Linked DNA regions of Homo sapiens: region 1 is linked to region 2. Evidence: promoter capture Hi-C in human tissues and cell types (Jung and others, 2019). All regions are on one chromosome and are shown on one strand. Each heading gives the region's core, a stretch centred on a gene start or on the middle of the fragment in contact. The rest is flanking DNA. Distances are from core to core; before and after follow the strand shown. Region 1 holds the start of BCL2L10 (BCL2 like 10). Region 2 holds the start of USP8 (ubiquitin specific peptidase 8).

Evidence for each region. The method cuts DNA at HindIII sites, captures the fragments that hold promoters and counts their contacts. A contact is called where the count stands out against the background at its distance.
Region 1: the fragment with the promoter of BCL2L10 here is called in contact with the fragment with the promoter of USP8 in region 2 in 1 of the 25 tissues and cell types used here (small bowel).

The regions. Positions count from the first base shown.
Region 1 is chr15:52,111,500-52,114,376 of GRCh38, forward strand. It overlaps BCL2L10 (BCL2 like 10), which reads right to left and starts at 1,276. Exons shown (of 2, transcript NM_020396.4): 1 at 739-1,276. The coding sequence starts at 1,227. RefSeq lists a silencer at 1,123-1,282. The HindIII fragment of the contact is 13,214 bases long and covers 1-2,877 here.
Region 2 is chr15:50,423,065-50,425,764 of GRCh38, forward strand. USP8 (ubiquitin specific peptidase 8) reads left to right here and starts at 1,341. Exons shown (of 20, transcript NM_005154.5): 1 at 1,341-1,450. RefSeq lists enhancers at 164-1,160, 1,199-1,588 and a silencer at 1,039-1,088. The HindIII fragment of the contact is 18,008 bases long and covers 1-2,700 here.

The DNA of each region.
Region 1 (2,877 bases), core at 26-2,525, 1.7 Mb after region 2:
CAATAAGGTGGTGGGGAAAGAAATGGGGTCTAGCTCAGAGCCCCCAGAGGCATGCAGTGGGCTCATCACCAGGTGGCTTTCCTTGATCATCAGCTGCAGGGCAAGGGCCTGTCCCTCTAACCTTGACCACAGAGATGAAGGCTTGCAGCTGAAAGCCAGGGGCCTAGAACGTTCTCACCGAGGACTGGGTGCAGAGGACTAGAAATTAAGGAACCTTGGGTCAGCGCCACCACTGGGCGACCACCACACTCCACAACCTCTCTGGCCAGGCTGAGAGGCGTAGGGGGTTGTGATCAATGGGTCTGAGTCTCTCCAAAGGCGCATTTAATAGGCGAAGGAGAAAAACACCCCACCTGGCTGGGGCCCCGCCATTGCTGACTTCATTGGTTGGGGATTTCTATAGGAGCAAAACGTTCAGACCTAACGTGGGTGCCCCCCTAAAAGTCCCCGACGGCTAAGGCCAGGGCAAGGTCCAAGTGAGCAGACCTAAGCCTGCGCAGCTGCTTCGGAACGGTTCACGGCCGTCTAAGAAGGCCGATTTCTGCCGGCCTTTCTGCCAGGGGAGGAGAAACCCCAGACTTCACAGCGAACGTTCCAGGCCCGCTGAAACGAGCCTTTCTGCTTTCACGAAACCTCGTTCCAGGGGCCTGGCGCGGTGGGTTCCTCACCGTGCCAGCCTCGTGGGCGCTTCCCGGCTGCCCGTCCCGCCCCGTGTCCCGGTGTCCGCCGCGTGCTCACCCAGCCGCCCTGAGCCTGCAGCCAGGCGCGGTGCTGCCCCATGAGCCGCGAGCTCAGCAAGGCCACCAGGCGCTGGCAGTCCCGGGCGACGTCGCCCTCCTGCTCCTTTAGCCGCGGCTGGAAGCCCCACTTCTTCCACCGGGCGGTCACCAGCGGCCCTCTCTCCAGCAGCGTCCCTGCGAAGGTCACGAGCGTCACCACTCTGCCCCAGGTGGGGCCGGGGCTGTCGGAGAGCACGGAATCCGCCATCAGCGCCACCAGCTCGAAGCGGTTCCCGGGGTAGCCGAGGTAGGCGGAGAAAAAGGACCGGTGAATCTGCCGTAACCTGGCGGCCGCGGAGCGCAGCACGGCGGCCTCGGGCGTGGATGGCGCCGGCTCGGGGGTGCCGGGTTCCCGGGCGCAGTACCCCAGGTAGTCGGCCAGCAACAGCTCGGTGCGCTCCCGCAGCGGGTCGGCCATGGTGGTGCGCTCCCGCAACTGGTCAACCATGGTCCGGCCTCTGCTGGGGGGCCGGGCCTTCGCTGGTTTTCTTGGCCCGGCCGCGCCTCCCCCAGGGTAGGGCTGCCGTGCCCCGCCCCGGCCCCCGGCCCCCGGCCCCCGGTATATTGTTTTTCAGGACTGAGAGAAGAGCCTTTGATGGGAATCCCACCTGCACCTGTTCCAGTCCCCAAGGCAAGGCCTGGTGGTGCGCACGTGTTCGCGTAGCAATCAGATGCACTGTGAGACTCGGGTTATTTAGCTCCAGTGGCGCGATCTTGGTTCACTGCAAGCTCCGCCTCCCAGGTTCACACCGTTCTCCTGCCTCAGCCTCCCGAGTAGCTGGGACTACAGGCGCCCGCCACCATACCTGGCTAATTTTTTTGGATTGTTTAGTGGAAACGGGGTTTCACCGTGTTAGCCGGGATGGTCTCGATCTCCTGACCTCGTGATCCGCCCGCCTCTGCCTCCCAAAGTGCTGGGATTATAGGCGTGAGCCACCGCGCCCGGCCATCTAATATTTATATTAAACTTTCTCAGTTCATATTACTCCGTGGCTTCTTTCTCCTGATTGGATCCAGACTGATGCAGAATGGATACTAGCAGTGGTATTTCTGGGGGTTCAGGGGTCTGGAGCATGTTGAAATAGCCCTCCCAGGGTGAAAGATGAGTTGCTGCATCTTGCATCACTACAAAAGAGGCACGGCACTTGGCAGCTGTCTTAGTCTGTCCAGGCGGCTATAGCAGAATGCCATAGACTGGGTGACTTATAAATAAAGGCATTTATTTCTCACAGTTTTGTTGGCTAAAAAGTCCAAGGTTGAGGCCCTGGCAGGTTCTGTGTCTTGTAAGGACCTGCTTCCTGGTTCATAGACAACAGGCTTCTTGCTGTGTCCTCACATTGCAGTAGGTGTGGAGTAGCTTTCCGGGGTCTCTTTTATAAGGACAATAATCTCATTCGTGAGGGCTCCACCTTTGTGATCTAATACCTCCCAAAGGCCCCATCTCTGAATACCATCACACTGGGGGTTAGGATTTCAACATATGAATTTTGGGGGACACAGCCTGGAACAGTAAGCCATTTTGGACTTTGAAGGCAACATATACTGTGTTTGTGCTATTTCAACCCAATTGACAGGCTGGTGGATTGAGGAGCAGAATAAGAGAAGACTCTGCAGAAGGTTCAGGCTGCAGTAAAGCTGCCCTACCACTTGGGTCTTGTGATCCAACAGATCCAGTGGGACTTTGTCCAACAGGGATGCTGTATGGAGCCTCTGGCAAGCACTGACAGGAGAGAGTACAGACCTCTAGAATTCTAAAGTAAATCTAGAACCTCTTCTGAAGATAACTACTCTCCTTCTGAGAAGCAGGTTCTGCCTTGCTACTAGGCCTTGATAGAGGCAGAATGCCTGACCATGAAGCTTGAGCTCCCATCATGAACTGGATGTCATCTGACCTACGTAGCCATAAAATTGGATGTATACAGCAGCCACCTATCATCAAATGGAAATGGTGTATTAGAAACAGCCCAGGCAGGTTCAGAAGGTATAAGTAAATTGTATGAGCAGGCGGCTCAGACTCTTCCAACATCAACTCCTGTTGCTTTGCCTCCTCTCCCTCATTCTACAACTATGGCTTCTTGGGATGCTGCCTATGTCCAGT
Region 2 (2,700 bases), core at 91-2,590:
TACCGCTCCCGGTCTAATTTTTAAATTTTTGTTTTGTAGAGATGAGGGTCTCCCTTTGTTGCTCAAGCTGGTCTCTGTCTCTTGGGATCAAGGGATCCTCCTGCCTCAGCCTCCCAAAGTGCTGGGATTACAGGCCTGGGCCACTGCAACCTGGCCTTCATCACAAATTCATTGAACACACTTTCTTTATTTTATCCTTTTTTATTTTTAAAAATTTTTATTTCAGTAGTTTTGGAGGAACAGGTTGCATGGAAAAGTTCTTTAGTGGTCATTTCTGAGATTTTGGTGCACCCATCACCCGAGCAGTGTACACTGTACCATGTGGCACACACTTTCACTTAAAGCATTTACTAGACCTCGCTAGCCAGATTTCCCATCCCTGAGACACCTGGAATGTTCCTGAGGACTTAGTGACTACTGCCTAAAGCTCCACCCAAGTCAATTTTATGTTTACAGGCAACCGGAGCATCCAATCACCTTTCTCTAAGAGAGTACAAAGATCAGCTCGCGAGAAAGTTCAGACGTCTCATTTCGTTTCTATTACACGGGGCCTTCGCCCAACCAGACGGAGTCTTGCTCTGCTGCCCAGGCTGGAGTGCAGTAGCGCGATCTCGGCTCATTGCAACCTTCGCTCCCCGGGTTTAAGCAATTCTCCTGCCTCAGCCACTGGAGTAGCTAGGATTACAGGCGCACGCCACCACGCCAAGCTAATTTTTTGTATTCTTAATAGAGACGGGGGTTTCACCATGTTGGCCAGGCTGGTCTCGAACTCCTGACCTCATCATTTGCCCGCCTCGGCCTCCCAAAGCGCTGGGATTACAGGCGTGAGCCACCGTGCCCAGCCTCGCCGGGGCCTTTTAAGTGACGTTAAAAATTGTACATAAAATATGTTTTAGGATAATACTTGTTTTTCTTTGACCAAAGGCTTGGCTTCAGAGAATGTTTAGCCAGAAATAGAGGGGCGTTAAATCCCCTTTTTTCTAATTTCCAATCTGAGGAGGAAAATAACGTAGTAAAGGGACGCAAGAGCAACCTTGCTTCTTCCACAACAAGGCCCAGGCGCCGCCTTGCAACCCGGAAATGCAGGGTGCAGTGCGGGGGGTAAGGGACCGGCCAACTATGTTGACCCGACTCAGAGAAACCCCGCCCTTGCCGCCACCGCCCACCCATAACGTCCTCCTCGACCCTCCCTCGACCATCCCTCGCCCCGCGGCCCTCACCGAAAAGGGGAGGGCGGTGGAAGAGAGAGGAGTCAAGGGAGCGCACGCGAAGCCCCGCCCCTGCCGTGACGTCTGGAGACGCGACGCGTCGCCTCGCAATGCAAATCGGGAAAAGGGGGTGAGCTGGGCTGGCTTCCGTCCTGGTAGCCAAGGCTAATTCTCCCTCGAGTTCTTGGGAGATGGGCATTTGGCGAGAAGGCTGGCGTTAGTGAAGCGCGCCCGGCGTCACGGTGAGTGCGGGTCTTGGGCCCTAGCACCTGTTCTCTGGGAAGTCGTCCGCTGTGAACGATGAACGCCTTTCCTTCCACCAGCTGCTGGTTACCCCGGAGACAAGCTCTGTCCGCGGAGAGGAGTGGGACAACTCCTAAAGGTAGAATCAGCTTGTGGAGAGGAAAGGCCCAACCTTGAGTCTTTTACGCCATCTACCTAGGATTGCCAAGCGAGTTTCGTGTGTTTTTTTGGTTTTAAAAGGTGGCTTTGACCAATCTTCCGTTCTCTTGGACACTTATACCCGACTTTGACCTCTTTCCTCTTGCTTCCGGTTTTTTTTTTTTTCTGCAATCTGCCTACAATCCCAGGCCTTACTGTAGCTCCTAAAACTGTTTCCCAGTTTCTCTTCTTCCCCAGTCACACTTGATTTTAGTGAAGTTTGAGTTTAAAGACCCTATAAGCTTGTCAGAGTTAAAACTATGACTTCCTCAAATAGAAGATTTTTTTTTTTTCCCCTAAAAAGTGCCTTCCATCCTAGAGTTGTGGGACAAGTTAATTTCACCGCCACTCCACCTTGGAAATTATCAGAATCCTTACTAGCAGTGATGTGCATTATAAAGCTGCAGACCACCCTCCTGGGTTTATTTCTTGCCTCCAGTTCATTCTGTGACCTTGAACAAGTCACTTAATCACTAACAAAAAATTTACCTGACACGGAGGTGTTGCAGAGCCTAAGGAATTTAGTATTTGTTAAGAGACCTGAGGGTTTCAGATGAAAGGGATTTATATCTAAAGGATGTTACCTTTTCTGAATCTGCAAAGCATCGTTAGTTTTGTAAATATCTTGCTGCAGCCATTAAAAATGCCAAGTGGTATTTGTTAAGGAAGTATTCCTGTTTTAGGCTTGCTCTGCTGCGGCTTTGCTATGTAAGCAGATTTTTGCATTTCAGCCGATTCTGTTTAAGATTCGTTGGTGAATGTCATTCATGATGGATTTGGGTAGTTTCTCCTTACAGCATATCCCTGGACTATTAAGCATATCTGGAAGGTGATATCGGTTGTGTTATGTCTTTATCATGTTGATATGGCTGCTTTGAAATATGTATTCCTTTTCTTGTGACACATTGGATGCATCTTTAATATTAGTGAAGACCCTGTAGTAGTTTAAAAAAAAAATACACCTCTCATTAATGAAATTTTGCACATAGACATCTGTTTTTTTAAGAAAACAATGTATAAGAAAAACTAACAAAAATGTTTTAAAGGTGCC